Linked DNA regions of Homo sapiens: region 1 is linked to region 2. Evidence: promoter capture Hi-C in human tissues and cell types (Jung and others, 2019). All regions are on one chromosome and are shown on one strand. The core of a region is centred on a gene start or on the middle of the fragment in contact, and the rest is flanking DNA. Distances in the headings are between cores, read along the strand shown.

Region 1 (2,700 bases), core at 68-2,567, 74 kb after region 2:
GCACTGGGAACAAGGGCTTCCGCCGCTCTAAGTGACGCCCGAGGGTGGGAGAGAAGGGAGAAGCCCTTCGGGCAGGCGATAGGAAAGGGCCCCTGAAGAGGAGAAAGCGACAGAGAGAAGTGCAACTGGGAGAGGCCGGGAAGAGGTGGATGGGAAAGGAGACTAGCGGTCGGGGAGGCAGTTGTGGAGCCAGAGAGGTGGTCCCCCCTTCCCATATCGCCGGCCGTCCACTGGCCCCAGGCTTGGGGTAGTCCTCAGGAGTCGGGCACCCCCTCAAAGCACTGTTGGAGATGGGGTGAGGTTGGGGACAGGGCACCTACTCCACTCTCAGAGCCCTTCTCCCCAGTCAGAGCCCGGTGGCTAGTTTCTCTCCAAACCATCAGCACAACTCCCCGCCGGGCAAGAAAGAGTTAAGCCCTCTCCCCCTCCCCCCACACCAGCTTTTTATTAATTTCTCCGGGCGTCGGGCGGGAGGGAGGGGATTAGGGCCATAAATCCTATCTCCGCCCCCTCCCCTGACAGCCCGGCACCCCAGCCCCGTGCGGTCCCCCTAGGGATAGGGGAAGAAAGGCCCTTGTCGCTTAGCCCTGCCCAACCCCACTCAGGGTCCCACCGCGGGCCCGAGTGGCCCTAGCCCCAGTTCCCGGTCCACCCCAGGGCGCCCGGCCCCTCACCTCCGGCATCGGTCATCTTCAGCGTCTGGCGCCCCGGGAACCCCTCAGGCCCATGGTGCTCGAGGCGGGGGCCGGGCAGGAGAGGGGTGGGGGGACCGTCACCCCGGCCGCGGGGGGCTCCGGGCGGGCTCGAGCCGCTCCATCCCGGGGGTGGGGGTGAGGTCGGCGGGAAGGGTCCCAGAGCCGGGGGAGATGGAGGGCGGGGGATGTGGGGAGAGGGAACAGGTTCGCTGGAAGCAGGAGGCGCGGGCGGGGCTGGACCAGGAGACCTGACGGGAGGATGCTCCGTGTGTGTGTGCGTGTGCGTGTGCGTGTGTGTGTGTGTGACAGAGAGAGAGAGAGAGAGAAGAGCGAAGAGCGAGCGCCACCTCCCTCCCCGCCCCTGCCGCCCGCCAGGCCTGGCCGGACGCGGGGCCCCCGCCTGGCAGGGCCGATTCGCGCGGCGTCGCGTCGGCAGGGGTCCGCGGGGGTCTCCGGGGAAGGGGCGTCGGGGTGGGGGGCGCGTGGCGGAGAAGCCGGGCGCCCAGGAGACAAAGAGCGGGAGGGAGCGAGGGGGCGGGGGCGGGGGAGGGCGGCGGGGAGGAGGCGGCTGGGGCCGGGGAGCGGAGTTGCAGCTACTTCTCTGCCCGCGGGAGACGCGGCGCACCGGAGTCTGCGCGGGTGGGAGCGGCTCCGGGGCGGTCCCGCCACGGGACCCACGGGGCTTCCGCCTCCTCTGCCGGGTCCATCAGGGCTCCCGATTAGTTCATTCATTCAACAAACGTCCGCCGAGCAGCCGGGGCGCCGAGGCTGGAGGGGACAGCGGTGAACAGAACCCCCGCCCCCTAACTGCGCTCAAGGCCAGTGGGCCAGTCGGGGGCTCAGACGAGTGGGGAGGCCCTCACGAGCCTGGGCGCCATGGGCCCAGCTAACAGAGGGCACTTCTTGCCGGAAGGGAGAGCGCACCCCTGGCCCGGCCTGGGTCCAGGCGGCCGCGGCGGGAGCTGGGCTGGGGGATTCCCAGAGGATGTGATGTGTTGGCTACAACTGCGGGCCAGGGTAGGGAAGTGCCAGGGGGTGTTGGGGGTGGGAGGGCAAGAGGGGAAGATAAATTGAAGCTGGGGAGGTGCAGGGGGCTTGCACTTTATTCTACCAGCCGCCCACCCCGCCGCCCACACACACACACACACACACACACACACGCGCGCGCGCGCACACACACAAAATTAAGAGGAGGGAGGGGCTCAGGTGTGCATTTAGGAAGCACCCTTGGCTCCCCTGGAGACAGGGTTACAGAGGGCACTCTGAAGGCAGGGAGACCCGCTGGAGGCTATTGAGGGCCGGTGGCAGTGGGCATAAAGATTACAGATTAAGCTGAGAGCCCTTCAGGATGCAGGCCTGAAGAAGCTGACACCGAAGAAGCTGACAGGATTTGGGGACCTGCTGGACTAGGAGGTGAGGGAGGAGGGGTCTAGGATGGCTGTGGACCTTGGCTTGAGGCAGGAAGCCCTGGAGCAGGTGGGGGTGGGGACGGATGAGATCAGACTTGGACCCAGTGCGCTGATGGTAGTGGCAGGCCAGCCAGGGAGGCAATGTAGGGATCCACAACCAGCTACCGCACGTCACAGCTTGGCAGGTGCCAGGCGCTCTCAGATCATCTATTGTCACCCTCACAATAAACCCACAAGGTGGGTGTTTCCATTACCCACTGCCTCAGAGAAAACAGAGACTTAGAAGAAGGAAAGTGCTTTGCTCAAGAGCAAGTGGTGAAAGGCCAGGCGCAGTGGCTCACGACTGTAATCCCAGCACTTTGGGAGGCCAAGGTGGGTGGATTACATGAGGTCAGGAGTTCGAGACCAGCCTGGCCAACATGGTGAAACCCTTGTCTCTACTAAAAATACAAAAATTAGTCAGGCATGGTGGCGCTACTCTGGAGGCTGAGGCATGAGAATTGCTTGAACCTGGGAGGTGGAGGTTGGAGTGAGCTGAGATTGTGCCACTGCCTTTCAGCCTGGCCAACAGAGTGAAACTCAAATCTCAAAAAAAA
Region 2 (3,018 bases), core at 266-2,765:
AGGCTGAGGCAGGAGAATCGCTTGAACCCCGGAGGCAGAGGTTGCAGTGAGCGGAGATCGCGCCACTGCACTCCAGCCTGGGAGACAGAGCGAGACTCCGTCGTCTCAAAAACAAAACAAAACAAAACAAAAAAACAATGTTCCGGGGAAAATGGGTCTCTGAGCTGCAATAAGAGAAATGTGAGTTAGATCCAAGAAAGTACATAGTAACCTCTTTTTTTTTTTTGAGACGACGTCTCACTCTGTCACCCAGGCTGGAGTGCAGTGGCGCGATCTCGGCTCACTGCAACCTGCGCCTCCCGGGTTCAAGCGATTCTCCTGCCCCAGCCTCCCAAATAGCTGGAACTACAGGCGCCCGCCACCACGACCGGCTAATTTTTGTATTTTTTTAGTAGAGACAGGGTTTCCCCACATTGGCCAGGCTGGTCTCGAACTCCTGACTTCGTGATCCGCCCTCCCCGGGTTCCCAAAGTGCTGGGATTACAGGCGTGAACCACTGCGCCTGGCCAGAGTAACCTCTTGAAGTTCCCTTTCGATTTGATTCCTTGGTGGAGGAGACCTTTAGTCTCCGCCCACTTACTGCCACCTGGCCCTACCCACCAAACACCTGATGGGTGCTGACGTCCGAGCCCAGTCTCCAAACACTCTGTTCGAGCTTGGGTGGGAAGAGGGAGCCTCTGGGATTCTGCTGGGCTGGGCCCTGAAGGCAGGAGTGGACGAGAAATGGATACGGTCTAGGCTCAGCTTCCCGGCTACGCAGTGCGTTCTGTGAAGGACGGACTCATTTCTACATTGACAGTCTTAGCCTTTGATACCAGAAGTCGCAGCACTTAGGGGGAAAAATGCTTTTTGGTAATTATAATTAGCGACATTTGGTTGTTACCACTGCTAAATATGTCTGTCTTTGCTGAGGAGCCAATCTCAGCTCGGATCAGGGTGAGTGGATAGGAGAAATAAATCTCGGCAAAGACAGCGAGGGGCCTGAGTGCGAGGAAGAACTCCCAGAGACCGCCAGCCACCTCTTGGGGACTCACAGCGCTGCGGAGGCGAGTCCAGCATTCTAGCCAGCCGCGCACGGACGTCGGTTCCCAGATGCGCCAATGCCAGGTCTCTCCAGCCCGGCTGGCCTTTTCAGCAGCAGCAGCAGCAGCCGCAGGAAAGCGGCCAGACAAATCCCACCCCCGGCCCCGCCCGTCACATCCATCTTGCTCCCCAGGCGACGCTTTCTCGGAGAAGCGAGGGGCGGGGAGGGGAAATCTAAGCCTTTGGGGGTTGCCGACAGGTGTTTGGGGGAGAAGGCGGAGCTGGGGTAGGGAGGATGAGGAGGGAGGGGCGGTGCTGCCCCTTTAAGAGGAGGCGGCCGAGCCGGGATCTTTTTCTCTTTCCCCGGAAGGAAAGCGCAGCCCGGGCTGGGCTCGCAAGGTGGGGAGGTGCGGGACTGGGCGTGGGGAGGCGGGGCGCGCGCCGGGGGACCCCTCCCTCCTGTCCTCCTTGCGGTCGACCGGTGCGCTTGCCAGATCCGCCGCGAAGCCGGGATCGAAGGCGACAGCGCGGCCAAGGGGGCGCGGCCGGGACAAGCTGGGGGCCGGTTGCCCGGGGCAGGGACGGCGGCGACCCGGCCGCTGGGGAGGCAGGAAGATAGACCCACGGATCTTAGGAAGGGATCCGAGAGCGCAGCTGTGAAACTGGCTGGGGCTGGGGGCACGAAACCGATCAGCGCTACGGAGCGCAGCGGCCGGCGGGTTCCAGTGTCCTCCGGCGGCGCGGGGAGCAGGTGAACAGGTCCTCACGCCCAGCTCCGCGCCCTCACGCGCTCTCGCCGGGACCCCGCTTCCGCTGGCAGCCATGGGCCCCGGCCCCAGCCGCGCGCCCCGCGCCCCACGCCTGATGCTCTGTGCGCTCGCCTTGATGGTGGCGGCCGGCGGCTGCGTCGTCTCCGCCTTCAACCTGGATACCCGATTCCTGGTAGTGAAGGAGGCCGGGAACCCGGGCAGCCTCTTCGGCTACTCGGTCGCCCTCCATCGGCAGACAGAGCGGCAGCAGCGCTACCTGTAAGTGAAGCTGGAGGGTGTGGGGTGGGAGCGAGAGAGTGTGCGAGCGCGGGATGCGGGTCCGGAGCTGAGTCGGAGCCCAGGGCAGCTGGCCCTTGGGAGCCAGGATTAAGGGGCGGCCCTCTGGCTGCTGGGGGTTGGCGGGAAGTGGAGGATTGGGTGTGGGGTCGGGCAGTAATCATTGGCAAGTGCTGACGGGGCCAGAACCTGTCTGGACGCCACCCCTCCGCCCTTTAGATCTCTCATGAGAGCGGAAGTGGGGTCCCGGTGGCTGAGTCCTCTCCCATTCTGTGAACCGAGTACCCAGCACTAGCCTGTTCTCTCCAGGGCTGGGAGCTGGGGTAAACTGCAAGATAAACACCCAGCGGACTCCCCCCTTCCCGTACGCTTGGGGGAAAAATGAGCATATACATTTAAGCACCTCGCTGGTAGTCTGCGGCCACGCCAGCCACACCCTCTGCAGAGCCAGACTGGATGGCCTTCTCAACCGCTGGCTTGGCGGATGGAGGGTGAGGCGATGGGTGAGTCTGGGCGTTTGGAGCTGTCCATACGCTCCCTCTGACGCCTTGAGGATAGGGGCGGTGAAAGAGAGAGGAGGACTTGTCCCAACTCTGGCTGGGTCTCCTCCTGCCCACCCGCAAGCAGTGGCACTCTCCCCGCAGACATCTTCCCTGCATTCCACAGATTCGTGTTGGATCTTCAACCCTGAGTGTGTTTGTTTTGGTTTGAAGAGGGAAACAGTGTTTTTCTCTTTCTTCTGTTCTCCTTCCCCAACAGCTGCAAGGAGGAGGGGAAGAGCTATGCACAGTGGAGGAAGGAGGAGGAGGTTGCACCCAGCCTCCTGGGTCCCCCTCACTCCACCAGACGCCCTCATGCCCAGGAGCATGTCCAGGCTTCAGAGGTCTCTCTGCCGTGGCCTCAGAGCGCGCGGAGGTTGGCGGTTGGGGGAGGTGAAGCTGTCCAAAGA

What was found. Contacts are between HindIII fragments. The study calls those that stand out against the background at their distance.
Region 1: a contact is called between the fragment with the promoter of SAMD14 here and the fragment with the promoter of ITGA3 in region 2, in 1 of the 25 tissues and cell types used here (IMR-90 fibroblasts).

Annotation. Positions count from the first base shown.
Region 1 is chr17:50,128,843-50,131,542 of GRCh38, forward strand. SAMD14 (sterile alpha motif domain containing 14) reads right to left here and starts at 1,318. Exons shown (of 10, transcript NM_001257359.2): 1 at 675-1,318. RefSeq lists silencers at 1,034-1,093, 1,334-1,413. The HindIII fragment of the contact is 12,261 bases long and covers 1-2,700 here.
Region 2 is chr17:50,054,595-50,057,612 of GRCh38, forward strand. ITGA3 (integrin subunit alpha 3) reads left to right here and starts at 1,516. Exons shown (of 26, transcript NM_002204.4): 1 at 1,516-2,051. The coding sequence starts at 1,846. It overlaps PICART1 (p53 inducible cancer associated RNA transcript 1), which reads right to left and starts at 1,145. Exons shown (of 3, transcript NR_038230.1): 1 at 1,035-1,145. RefSeq lists an enhancer at 1-470 and a silencer at 1,450-1,589. The HindIII fragment of the contact is 12,867 bases long and covers 1-3,018 here.